Linked DNA regions of Homo sapiens: region 2 is linked to region 1. The links are contacts of gene promoters, found by promoter capture Hi-C in blood cells and fetal thymus (Javierre and others, 2016). All regions are on one chromosome and are shown on one strand. The core of a region is centred on a gene start or on the middle of the fragment in contact, and the rest is flanking DNA. Distances in the headings are between cores, read along the strand shown. Region 1 holds the start of MTFR2 (mitochondrial fission regulator 2). Region 2 holds the start of TBPL1 (TATA-box binding protein like 1).

The links. The method cuts DNA at HindIII sites, captures the fragments that hold promoters and counts their contacts. A CHiCAGO score of 5 or more calls a contact.
Region 2: the fragment with the promoter of TBPL1 here is called in contact with the fragment with the promoter of MTFR2 in region 1 in 3 of 17 cell types (non-activated CD4 T cells, activated CD4 T cells and fetal thymus); the score reaches 10.2 in non-activated CD4 T cells.

The regions. Positions count from the first base shown.
Region 1 is chr6:136,246,077-136,253,031 of GRCh38, forward strand. MTFR2 (mitochondrial fission regulator 2) reads right to left here and starts at 4,235. Exons shown (of 8, transcript NM_001099286.3): 1 at 3,900-4,235; 2 at 2,961-3,077. The coding sequence starts at 3,023. RefSeq lists enhancers at 3,685-3,904, 4,555-4,704. The HindIII fragment of the contact is 2,013 bases long and covers 3,856-5,868 here.
Region 2 is chr6:133,949,926-133,956,880 of GRCh38, forward strand. It overlaps TBPL1 (TATA-box binding protein like 1), which reads left to right and starts at 3,299. Exons shown (of 7, transcript NM_004865.4): 1 at 3,299-3,500. LOC128092253 (umcharacterized LOC128092253) reads left to right here and starts at 3,379. Exons shown (of 2, transcript NM_001414965.1): 1 at 3,379-3,500. The coding sequence starts at 3,379. RefSeq lists a silencer at 2,297-2,406. The HindIII fragment of the contact is 10,274 bases long and covers 1-5,000 here.

The sequences.
Region 1 (6,955 bases), core at 2,985-5,484:
AAGAACAACAGGCATAGAGGCTTTGCTACCATGACGGCTACCTATGACATATACAGTCACCCAAGAGTTGGGTTAGTTCTTAGTTAATTTAAATGATACCTTCCTATCTTGCTCGGCAGTTTCCATCCTAATAAACTCTTGTCCTTCCTCTCATTCCTTCATTGCCCCTGGCCATCTTCACCATTTTCGTTGTTGTTGTTGTTTGCTTTTTGAGGTTTTTTTTTTGAGATGGGGTCTCACTCTGTCACCCAGGCTGGAGTGCAGGGCATGATCAGGGTTCACTGCAACCTCCACCTCCCAGGCTCAAGCAATCCTCCTACCTCAGCCTCTGGAGTAGCTGGGACCACAGGTGCACACAACCATGCCTGGTTAATTTTTATATTTTTTATAGAGACGAGGTTTCATCATGTTGCCCAAGCTGGTCTTGAAAACCTGAGCTCAAGTGATATGCCTGCCTCAGCCTCCCACAGTGTTGGGATTACAGGGGCGACCCACCACATCTGGCCATCTTCACCATTCTTATTATTTCATCTTCCCTCTATTCCTGGTCTAGTACCCACATTTTGACTTTACTAATTTTCCTACCAAGCATGGATTTTCTGGTTAATTATTTCAGTAATATGTTCAATGCCACTCAAAAATGGTTCATTCTTTTGATATTATGTGCTCCCACACTGCTAATGAATACACTACTGTAATTACTCTTAGCTAGGAAAAAAAAATCACAAAACGACAATATTTAGAAAAACTACAATTCCATGATGACTTCAGCTGGGTTCTCACAGGTATTCTGAAATCCCTTCATAACATGTTACATTCTATACCACATTGCCCAGAGCAGTCTCCAATCTCTGAAATCCCTTCTCAAATCCCACCACTTCATTACCTGCAAGTGACCTTGTCTCTGCTCTTACTGAGAAAACCGAGAACTTCAACTTGACATACCTCAACTTCACTTCTCTTACTTAGCTCCATTCAAAATCTCTTTTCAGGCCAGGCGCAGGGGCTCACGCCTGTAATCCCAGCACTTCGGAAGGCCAAGGCAGGTGGATCACTTGAGGTTAGGAATTCAAGACCAGCCTGGCCAACGTGGTAAAACCCCATCTCTACTAAAAATATAAAAATCAGTTGGGCATTGGTGGCAGGCTCCTGTAATCCCAGCTACGCGGGAGGCTGGGGCAGGAGAATCACTTGAACCTCGGAGCAGAGGTTGCAGTGAGCCAAGATTGCACCACTGCACTCCAGCCTGGGCAACAGAGCAAGACTCCATCTTAAAAAAAAAAAAAATCTCTTTTCACTCTCTCTCACTTTCATTCTGTTCTTTAAGGCAGGACAGTCTCTCTCCTTTCCAAGACTTATTTAATTAGATCCCTTGCCCAACTACCTTCTCAAAGGCGGTGCTCAATCCTCTCTCATGTGGATCTTAAATTTCTTCCTGTCTGTTTCTTCCAGAGTGATGACAAATATGCTGAAGTTACTTCTAACTTTAAAAGAAAAAGAAAAATTCCATCCTGCGGCCCCTTCAGGCTGATGGCCTCTCTCAATTTCTTTTCACAAGCAAACTTTTCAAAAGAAGGTTGCTGATCCCACCTCCCTTCCTGATATTCTTCAAACTACTCCAACACAGTCCCATTCTCCACTTACAGAAATTCTTAAGGTCACCAATAACCTAATAGTGATAAACAAATGTTCAGCTGTTATCTTCAGTCTCTCGATTACTGATATTTAGAATGTTTCAATCACATCTAATGACATTTGCCATTATCGAAGTCCATGGCTTTAAATATCAAAACAAAGCAGATAACTCCCAAAACTGAATCTTTTTCTTTCCTACATACTAAAACCATATATATATCCAATTGTCTGAAGGATATTTCTACTTATATGTTCTAACATCACCTCTGACTCACCTCATCTCCATATTCAAACTAGTTTCTCATACTAAGATGCCCATTTATAATAATGGTACTATGATTCTTCAACTTACTTTTGCTTTAAAAAAATCTTAAATTATCCTTGACTACTTTCTTCTAATTCACCCCACCCGTCTTCCTTACAATCTCATATTACAGTTATCTTTATTGTTTCTTATTCCTCATATTTTAAGCATTATGAATACAACCATGTATTACTCCTCTGTATTACCTGCAGAAACAAGCATATTGTCTTAGATACAGCAGATTTTCAACAAGTAGATAAAATTTGATTTGCTTATGATATGGTTTGGCTGTGTCCCCACCCAAATCTCACCTTGAATTGTAATTATCCTCACGTGTCAAGGGTGGGGCCAGGTGAAGATAACTGAATCATGGGGGCAGCTTCTCCCATACTATGCTCGTGGTAGTGAATAAGTCTCATGAGATGTGATGGTTTTATAAACAGGAGTTCCCCTGCACAAGCTCTCTTGCCTGCCACCATGTAAAATGTGACTTTGCTACTCATTTGCCTTCAGCAATGATTGTGAGGCCTCCCCAGCCATGTGGAACTGTGAGTCAATTAAACCTCTTTCCTTTATAAATTACCCAGTCTCCGGTATGTCTTTATTAGCAGCATGAGAACAGACTAATACAGCTTATAATTCTCAGGCCTAAATCATCCTCTTTCCATTAGATTTATTCTGGATTTATTGAGCTTTAAATATTGAACTTGTTTATAAATTACCTTGAATAGAAGTTTTAATGTATCTGTGCAATAAATGTAATTCTGTGAAGCTCATGTCTATATTTTGCTTCCTTTGTATCTTCTGTTGGCATTTGTCCTATCAGGTAAATATGTTCTCAATAATCTTATCCCTCTTCTAACTCAAATCATCAAAGCTATACTATTACAAACTCACCTTTGTTCCAACTAAAAAGAAGCAACAACTTTGCCTTAAATCAAATGATTACATATAAGTCATTTTCAAAATGAAACCCAAGAACAAATACAACAGATCCATTCCAATCCAAAACGACATTTACCTGTTCTACAGGAACGCCAAAATATTCCAGCATCTCTCTTAAGATATTCAGTATGAGAGACATTGATGAAGCAAATACAGAAGCCAATTCAAAGGAACATTATCAGTTTCTTGGTGCCTTTGGGGAAAATTTTAGAAAATGTTACTCTTGACAAATAAATGCCAAATTGTACTACATAACCTGGAAAAGTCCTCTTGATACACGACACAGTCAACTAATTTCTCCTAGCCAGCATTCTTTTAAGTCAGAGAAAAAGAAAGGAAGGGGAAGTCTGGGGGAAAGAGAGGGTTGTAAAGGAAATTTCAATTAATTGGTTAGATTACATTAAAACCTCGTAGGATGTTTGAGCCTAGTTAATAGAGACCAATCAACAAACTGGACATCTACTTAGTAGGCAAGGCTTCAAGTTACATGCCACAGCGAAGCTCGCTCTTTCCTGAAAGCTTTGGGCTGAGACTCTTAGCAGATGGGTGAGTTTAGCCAACCCTTGAAAGCAGGCAAGGGACGACTCAGTTTTTAAAAAAATAAACAGTAGCTCTTCTCACACACATATCCTCACGTGTCAAGGGTGGGGCCAGGTGAAGATAACTGAATCATGGGGGCAGCTTCCCCCATACTATGCTCGTGGTAGTGAATAAGTCTCATGAGATGTGATGGTTTTATCAACAGGAGTTCCCCTGCACAAGCCCTCTTGCCTGCCACCATGTAAAATGTGACTTTGCTACTCATTTGCCTTCAGCAATGATTGTGAGGCCTCCCCAGCCATGTGGAATGCCCATCCCTCCTCACTCTTTTAAAATGAGAAGCATGAATTCCAGATACGGGACGTGACTTGGTCACCCATCTAGTAACAGGCCGTGACCAGAGCCGGATCGCGTCCCTCGCTTTGGTCACAAGCTTCCTGGTGCTCTCCAAACACAGCGTGGTAGCCTTGCTCACCTTCCTCCGAAGCCGAGCCCCCGGGAATCACCAGAACATCAAGCGGAGGGCGTTAGGAATCCTCAATCAAATTCCAGACTGCGCCACTCCTTGTGCAGATCGCTCAGACGTCTACCCAGACCTCGACCCAGTTTCCACCCGCGCGCCTCGGCTTGCAGCCACAGGCGGTAACGATGCCCTCAGCGAGGAATAAGAGGTCAACCCGGTGCCCAGCCCTGGAGCCTCACGCTCAGCCAGGGTAATGTTATGGGAAGCGCGCCCCCGTCCTCCTGCGCCCAACCAACCCACCTGCTAGTCCCTAGGACCGGACTGCTACTTCCGCATGACAGGACTGCTACTTCCGCATCCCAGGACGAAATCAAACTCCGCGGGCCAGGACCCGTAACCAGCCTCATTGGGCAAAACTGAAGATCGCTGCTTCTGATTGGTCATTGCATGATGTCAGGCAATTCGGGAAGCGACTGCTTTTCCTTCTCAAGAGGCGGGTCTTCCGAGAGTCAGCCAATAGGAGCTGACGGGCAGGGCAGGTCGCGTTAGGACAGCGTCGCTCCCGCAGGGCAAGGTTTTAGGTACAAACTCGTGAGCTGGACTCGCAGTCCGGAGTTCGTACCCCACAGAACTCTTCGCAGGGAGTGTCTTACTCGCTACAGCCGGACCCTAAGCGCATCCGCCTTCCCAAGTTCATCTGACACAAAATCGCGATTTATTTTTTGGTCATTTCATTTGTTCAGCTAATATTAAAATACTTGTGGAACTGGCAGAAGCCAAGCACTACCCCCGAGGGTTTTGCAGCTTTGCAGTGGCTAGGATTCATTCTTTCGTTCACTAAATACACCTACGTATCCAGGCTACCGAATATTGGGCCGGACACTCTCCTGGCTTAGCCGAGGATGGCAAGTGATATGACAGGTGATATCCCAGTTTTCATTTCTGATTTGAGGTTATTGGCTTCATACGAAATAGCTTCCTCTTCTGAATTTCAGCAAGACGTGCACTGGAGTGATATAACAATTTAAGATGTGTGCCTGCTACTGACATAATTTGAAAATCTAAGTTTTGAACTAATTTATCTATGGTCAACATCACTTATTCATTCAACCAATAATAGATATCTACTACGTAGCAGACACCATTCTAAGCACGGAAAATACCTTAATGAGAGGGCAGGTCCTCGTCCTCCTGGAGCTTACAGGCCAGCGGGGCATCTCGTTCCATTCTAACCCTAATTTGCTTTTCTCTATAGCACTTATCATATATATTTAGTTACGCTTCCACTACCACCAAACAAAATTGTAGACTCCAGGAGAACAGGAAGTTGTTTTGATCCATGCTCTATCTTTCCCCAGTGCTTTAGAAGAGTGTCTGGTATATAATAGGCATTCAGTCTATTTGTTGAATAAAATACCTAAATGTGGAATGACAGAAAAGATGATAATGATTTGGGACTAAGCAACTAGCAAAACAATTGATAGCAATAATAGTGATATGCCCAGTAGAGCTGGATACGGCTGAGTGAGCGCAGAACAAGGATGATGATGGATCAGAAACCCTAGATGGAGTAATTTTCTCAAGTTCCTTGTCCTTCCCTTTGCCCTTGTGAATAAATCACGACTTTATAACCCCCTCCCTTTCCCACTCTCTTATCAAACAGCAAACAGACAGGGCCAGAATGAAAACATCCCTCCAGAATGAGAACGGAACCACTACTCTTCCAGCTGCACTATTAACATAGGTTAATATTCCAACTGATTTAAGTAGCAAGGAGGACCCAGGTCAAATACTACATCCATAAATGCTTTGCTGACAACTTTCTTCTAAATTCTTCAGAGATATTTCTTCCAGTTTACTAAAGCATTCATAATTCCATTTTGACAAAAACATTTTATGTGATTGGACATCTTTTTCCATTGCTCATTTTTACACGAAATTAGATTTTCCTGAACTCTTAGAATGAGATAGGGTCCAAGAAAGCTTTTCTGACATCACAAAGCTAGCTTTTCTGTTGTCTCTGAGTAGTGTTCAAAAATATAGTGGCTTGCTTTCTGGAGTTTTCCTGTGTTCCCCTCCCCCAGTTTGATCCAGGTAGAAAACTTGCTATTCACAAGCTGCATGTTAACACTTTTTAAAGTATCTAGTTGTCAAGTATTAGCTCATTATATTGAATTAGCTCACTATATTGAGCTAGTAAGTCTATGTCCCTAAGATTTTTTACCTACTGACTCTGATTTCTGTCCTTTAAATATGTAACATGTTAAAATGAGGAGATCGGACAAGTATCAAATACCAGTCTCCTGATCCTATGTGATTTGAACATGTCTCTTCTCTAGCAAAGCCTTTTAAGGATTTGAACACAGCAATCAAGAACCTATCTTGGCTGGGAGCGGTGGCTCACGCCTGTAATCCCAGCAATTTTTAAGACAGCCCAGATTGTATTTGTTTCAAGCAGCAGCAGCAGACATAAAATTAAATCAAGCCTTTATAAATACGCAATTATCATTCTTTCATTTATACACACTCAAGGACCATTTATTACATAACTACAGTATGTATGCCATGCACAATACTAAATGCTAAAATTTTATTCTGGTGGAGACATGTAAATGGAATGAATTACTAGCCTAAAGGTATGTGCTGCATTCAGTGGCCCCTGAGCAAAAAGAGGAATTGGAAATTTTTTGCTAGGGTGTAAGACTTAAGATAGGTAAGTGAACAAGGAGTAGCATAAGGCAAAGTGGCCAAAAACAGTACATAGGGAGTTCCTACAGCTCATCATGACTGAGGTTCAGACAACAGGAAGACATCAATGCGTAAATTTTGGTTTTAAAATGACTGTAATTTTGCACTTGAAAAACATCCCAGAGATGGCAATATAAAGATGAAATTTATGGGTAGAGTCCAAGCTAAGAGACCAATGCAGCAGCTAGGGATAGTGATGAGCATCTATTATTGGGGGTTGAGGGGGGACGGCGGGGCGGCAGTGGAGAGAAGACAGAACACTTTATAGGGATGTCCAACTAGCTTAATGGATAAAGAACATAAGTTTGCAGTAGGATGGG
Region 2 (6,955 bases), core at 2,049-4,548, 2.3 Mb before region 1:
AAGAATCAATTTTTGGATTATTTTTAATTACCAGCCCATTGCAGACAAATATTTTCATAAATACAAAACTGCATGCTTAGATAGCCCTGTGATGTCAAATTATTAAACGTTTCCAAATCCTCCTCTCACTTTCCATATCTCTTTCATTGTTGACTAGTAGAGCTTGCAGACTGGCTTTGGTCTGTACATCACATTTTTAGTAGCACTGATAAAACCAATAAAACTTGCTACTTTCCAAGCCTGGGATGGATGACTCCTCACTGTCCCCACTTCCTTTACTAGGCCAGTTCTACATTTTAGGGTTGTGATGGTTAATACTGAGTGTCAACTTGATTGGATTGAAGGATGCAAAGTATTGATTCCGGATGTGTCTGTGAGGGTGTTGCCAAAGGAGATTAACATTTGAATCAGTGGGATGGGAAAGGTAGACCCACCTTTAATTTGAGTGGGCACCATCTAATCAGCTGCCAGTATGGCCAGGATATAAAAAGCAGGCAGAAAAACCTGAAAAGGCTAGACTGTCTTACAGTCTACATCTCCCAGCCTACATCTTTCTCCCATGCTGGATGCTTCCTTGAACATCGAACTCCAAGTTCTTCAGCTTTGGGTCTCAGACTGGCTTCCTTGCTCCTCAGCTTGCAGACAGCCTATTGTGGGACCTTGTGATCATGTGAGTTAACTACTACTTAATAAACTCCCATATATATATTTTATTAAGTAGTAGTTATATACATACATAACAGGATATATATGTCTATCCTAATAGGATAGACATATATATCCTATTAGTTCTGTCCTTCTAGAAAACCCTAATACAAGGGTCAGCAATCACAATTCCTATTTCTAGGTTATCAATTTCTGTACTGATCAATAGTCTTGGATGAGAACATATACTGCATATTCTAACTTTACAATGCATTGTCTCCTAGCTGGCACCTGAATAATGGGTCACATTATAAGAGCAGTGAAGCCCATGGCCTTTGGTTAGAGGAATGGTGTATGGGATAATGTGATAGGTCTATTATTATTATTATTATTTTGTATAAATTTGGAAGTACAAGTACAGTTTTGATGCATTGATATGTTGCATAGTGGTTGAAATCTGGGCTTTTAGTGTTAACCATCACCGGAATAGTATAATAGGTCTATAATTAATAGGGAATAGTGCTTGCAGCAAAACCAAATCCCATTCCAGAATGTGGAACTAATGTAGGGAAGCAAACTATTGGCTGATCCATGACAAAAGGGAGTCTAAAGTAATTGACATTCCTGCTTCTAGGTATTTGGCTGGTCCCCTTGAAGGAGAATGCCTCGTAAGGACCTTAGAACTTGTCGCCATTGCTGTAACGTTGACTTTTCAGGAGTGGCAGTAGCCACTGGAATAGAGAGTCTCCCCTGCCGTTTCCTTGGCAAATCATGTTATTTTCCAGGCTAAAACTCCACTTTCCCTAGCACTTGGAAGAAAGTCCAAACTCCTTCTATGGTCTACAAGGCACTGAAAGTTCAAGACCTTAATTTCCCTCCAATTTCAATGACTGTCATTCTTCCTTTGCACTGTTTCCTGATGCCCTAGCCACACTAATACCCCAGCACAGCAAGTACTCAGCATATCTTGTTCCCTCTGACTGGAACACTCTACATACATTCTTCCCACTCCCATCCCTTTTAGAAATTGGCTGAGATGTTACCTCCTAAAAGTCCTCTCCCCACCACCACACAGACATTACTTTCTAACCCAGCTTCTTGTTCACTTTCTTTATTAAACCTGACCCAACTATAATCACTATCCCTTGAAAAATAAATTAGTACAGAAATGAAAACAAACTCCATCATTCTACGGAGCTTTCAAATGCTCGAATATGTTTCTGAACACTCAGAGGGGAAAGCAAAAAATCAAGAGGCATCCTTGGAGATCTCGTAAATAATAAAATACCTAAATGGTTGCCTACTGTCAAAACCCCAAGAATTCAGCCCACGTCTTCTCTTTTAAAAAGGCAGTGGCATTTTCATTTTTTTCATCTGATTCCCACCAATCAGAGGCCAGGTACCCATGAACCCGGCTCGGCGTGGTCTTTTAATAATTAAATCAGGGCTGCCATTGACCTCAACTAACGCCAGGGGCTTCTGACTGCAGCCGAGCTCTGGTGGAAAGGCCGATGCCGGCCTGAGAGTGGGAAACGTGGGGCCGGGAGCCGGGGGCTTCCGCGCGGCGTGGCGTGGCGTGGCGTGGCGTGGCGCCCTCAGGGCCGTTACGCGATTTTCGCTCCCGCGGGCAGCGCCTCTCAGGCCACTCCCGAGGGACCCCGAGGACGCACTCGGGCCCCAGGGCGACGGTTCAAACGGGCCATTGTGCGCCCCCGGGGTCCCCCGGCCCCTGCAGGGCTACTTGGGCGCAGAGCCGCGGAGGGTCTCCGTTCCTAGAGGTCCTCCTATCCCGGGCTGCCTGAGTCCTCGCCAGCATCCGCCCTCTCCCACTCCCATCCTTCCTGGATCCGCCTCTCGGTTCCCGAGGGACAGTCCCGACCGCAAACCCACGTAGAGTAAGGAATGTGGGACAGGCGACAGAAGTGGCATACGGTCCTGCGTTATCCCTCCGTCTCGCCACACCTTGTGTCTCCATCTCTCCCCACTTCCTTCCCTCCGTCTGTCATCTGTCATCCCCGGTCGCTCTAAGACCAGGATTCCAATTCGCCTAGTGAGGAATCTCACTAGGGGAATTTATCGCGACATCATAAATTAACGGGTTCATTTTGACTGAAAAAGCGAAGGACTTTTTTCAGGCAGAAAACAAGTCTCGTCTGGACGGTAAGGACTAGCTTTAGCAATTATATAATGGGGGGTGGGGAGGACCTTTTGTATAAATTTAATGAGCTGATGAGAAAGTTCTACGGTTTTGACAAAAAAGTCCACCTAAATATTCGACTGTATGCCAGAAATTACTACACGTTTAGATATCAACTAAAAATATACAAAGGATACACGGTGTTTTCAGAACCCTTTCAAGCGGTTCTTAAACAAAAAAGTCTAGTCCGATGCCCATTAGCGCCGCCCCCATCCCACCTCTTACCTCCCACCGAGCCCAGCGGGTGGGCAGGAGGGGCCTGATTTGGGGACCAGGAAGGAGGAAGGAAGGGTGGGGGCGGGGGACGGGGAAAGTGACGGGAGCAGTGAGAGCCGGAAATGAGTGGCTAGCGAGGCACCCAGGAGCGCCCTGTCCGGCGGCGCTCTAGCCCTCGCGCACTGTCTCTATGCTCCCCAGCGTCTAGTCTATTTATTGTCGCGGGGAAGCTGCGGCCGCCTCGCACCCGGAACAACAAAGCAAGGAAGACGGAGTCCGAGCCTCGGGGGCTCCTAGCAACGGGCCGGGGCGGGAGTTCCATGGAGACTGGGGAGCGCGCCCGTCTCATCCTCATCCTTGTCCTCCAGCTTCTCCTTCGCATCCGACGCAACCGGCAGCAGCGCTGCCGCCGCGTCCTCAGCCACCGCTCCCTCTTCCCACGGTAACCCCCTAGGCGACCCTGGGCACAGGGAGCGCGGGCGGCTGAGCGGCCTGAGCACCGGGTGCGGGGCGTCTGGGCGCGGGGTGGGCATGTGCGGAGCCCGGGCCAGACTTGGGGTGGGATGTGTGGGGGCGGGCGACTGGAGGGCAGCCGCTGAGGTGGGGGAAACCGGTCCGGTGGCCGAGGGAGGGCTCAGTTCTGAAGAGGACCGGGCGATATTTGGGGATCTCTTTAGGGATAACGGGTTGGGGGTGGGGCGTCCGTACCTGGGAGCGTTACCGAGCCTGGTGTAGGATAAGAAAAGAAGGGTTATCTTTCGTTTAAGCCACCACTGGGAAAGACGGGGAAAAGAGATTCCTCATCTGTCTCGGAGCCATCACCCAGGGGAAGAGGGACCGTGCAAAGATGCTAGGGGTCCGTTGCTTCTCAGAAAACTTACAGCGGCTTCTCTAATAGCTCCCAAAAAGCGGCTTCGTCGGTTTCTGATTCTGGCAATGCCGGCAGCCTCGCTTTATTTTATTATTATTTTTGACCAAAATTAGGATTGATGGAGAAGGATCTAGAACTGAAGAAGAGAAAATGAATTGTGGGTAGGGCTAAGCAGGGATGAGAGTCGGGATAAGTGATAAAAATAGCCAATAAAAGCCCTAAAAGTAAATCTAATAGGGCATGAGGGCTTAAAAAGAAAATCTCTCCTGCCGAGATGTGCATCTGCAGGCTCTGTCAATGTGCTCATTGCAATAAGACTCAAACTGCAGTCAATCCACATCTGTGAGCTCTCTGACTGCATCTGTCACCTGCAGTTCCAAAGCGACACTGGCAGTAAGTGCATGAGCTTCTGTATTTAGGGTTTAGAACAGTGCCTTAAAACTGTGACTTAAGAAAAGGGAGCAGGTTTGCGTGTGTGTGTGTAAGCAATGTGGATTCTCTGGGAAAATATAAAAAGAGACATAAGAAGGTTCAGCCATCCTGGCATAATTTCGCAGTCTCTTTGAGAAAATGGCAGTTCCTTCCTATTGAGAAGTGACTGTTAGCACTATCTGGTTGAAAGGATTATTCACAGTTTGGTATGCCCAGTGAAATATCAGTTTATGTTACCTCTTTAGTCTTACATCACAAGCTGCTTAATGGTTTTATACTTTACAAAATCATTTTGGGTGAGTAAATGAGGTTTTCCTGTAGCACAATGAAAAGGCCACATATACATACAAAGTTCTTTATGTAAAGTTGAAGATTAAAGATGAAAATAAAATTGATAAATCATAGGAGCAATTAGGTCAACCACAGCTTCTGTTTGTTCCCCACCCCTTTTGTTAAACCTGACTTCTCCTAAGCAAAAAGGTGTCATCCTTTCCCCAGCCTCCTCTTTACGTACCCTCTGCCCTCAAAATCAGTATCAGAAACTCTAGTGACCTATTACTATGTGCCCTTGATTGGGCTGGCTTGTTCCTGAATGAGGGCTAGCCAGAATATAGCTTCAACTCAGGCGTTTTCATCTTAAGCTTTTAATATGGAATTGAGGTCCAGTGTCTGTTAAAGGAATTTCATTCATGTGTAAAGAAGTGGACAGGATGCAAAGTGTGAACATTGGGAAACTTAAGTTGCATTTTAAGACATTAAGAAGAAAAAGATAGATTAATGAATCAAAGACTGTTGCTTAATCTTTGTAGCAGTTCTGTGAAGGATATACTGGGATAGCCATACTTGAGGCTGTGGATGTTGAGTCCTGGGGTTATCTTTGTGCATATGAGACTTGACGAAGTGTCCCTCAACCTCAGGGCTGCCATCAGACTCACTTGACCCAGATCTAGTTTGCCGTTGTCTGTCTCTTCATTGTTTGAGTGAGGGTCAAGCCCTAGCTTCCACCTTTATTAACAATGCAGTGTCTGCTTTCCCTGCTCTCCTCCGCCCCAATACTCCCAACTTTGGTGGTAGTTTAGTTACTGTCTTTTCTTAATCATGTCCCAATCAAAAATGATTTTTTATGCTGTATCATTTCCGTTTCTTACAGCATTTTCAACATGTGTCCTTCGCCTGCATGTGCATTTCATTAATGTGATTTTATCTGTTGCATTTTCCTTCTGTACCCTCCTCTTTATTTGGAAAATTGGAGTGGTCATGTTAGATGTTCTGTATTCATTCTGAGTAACTGTTGGTTGTGAATACAACAGGTTAAGAGCCTCTGCTGAAACTCAAGAGCTTCTATTAAAATAAGGTATATTAAAATTTTTGAACTTAGCAGAATGAAAGACGTTAGAAGTCCAAATGGTAATACTGTAATTGTAGACGGTCACTTTTTAAAAAAGTATTGTAGAGCCTGTTCTGTGTTTTAAATTGAACCTTAGATTTTCATGATTCTTATTCTAAAAAAATTATTCTTAAAATCAATCTTGACTGAAATTATATTCTGCCAAATTTGAGGGAACTACTTATAGTAATTTCCCCAAGTTATTCTTAACATAGAAAATTGTCACATCAGCATTTGTGTGGATGAACACATATAAAATGCAGAATTTGCTATGAAGTAGAACAAATATTTATGAAACATATAGCTGAATGTTTTTGGAGAGAGTTATTTCTTCTCATGGACATGGCACATTATTTAAAAAAATCAGAAAATACTGTATAATCTAGTTGAGTGAACATGAGGACTGTTTTTAGATGAAGGATACCAGTAATAACCTAGGTGATTGATTTCCTTCTGTTTCATCATAGACCATGTGATGAAATTATTGCTATAAAATATGAACGTTGCAGTTGATTTTTAGAAGAATTTATAGTAGAATGTTTCCACATTGTCTCTGAGTTAAAATCTCTGGTGTTTTCAAATTTTAGCTGTATTGTGACATTCGAACTAATAAAGATTCCCTGAAACTTAAATCCATTTTGTTGTGCCTTCTGTATGTCTGGTGCCGTGTCAGGTGTGCAAAGCTGGATGAGAGAGGTATTTCCCTTCAGGTGCTTTTTGTGCACTTGTAGGTAGCAGAGAAATGACATGTGTGTAATAAAACATGACAGACACAAATATGAATTTTAAATTCTTTATTACATACTGCCTGGTACTGTCACTATTGGTGAATGGACTTCATCATGCCTGCTAAACTAGAAGTTTCTTGAGGATCAGGAGTATGAGTAGCCATCATCATATTGTATGTCCCTGCCCTGTGTGTGTATTTTGAAGATTACGTTGTTAATAGAAGGAGATACATGTTTGTTTATTTCACTTCAAGAGCTTAGCTAGTGGATGAAGGAAACCTTTTTGAAATCTGATTCTTGATGCCTAAAATTTCAACTTTGTATTCTGGCTGTGGGCATGCAAATTACAAGCAGTGACACTTTCTCAAGCATGATTACAGCTTCTAACCAATTCAAACAATAAAGATAATGGTGGACTGCCTTCACTTGAGTAGACACGATATTTGCTCTTGTCACATGACTACCACTTTGGGAAATTT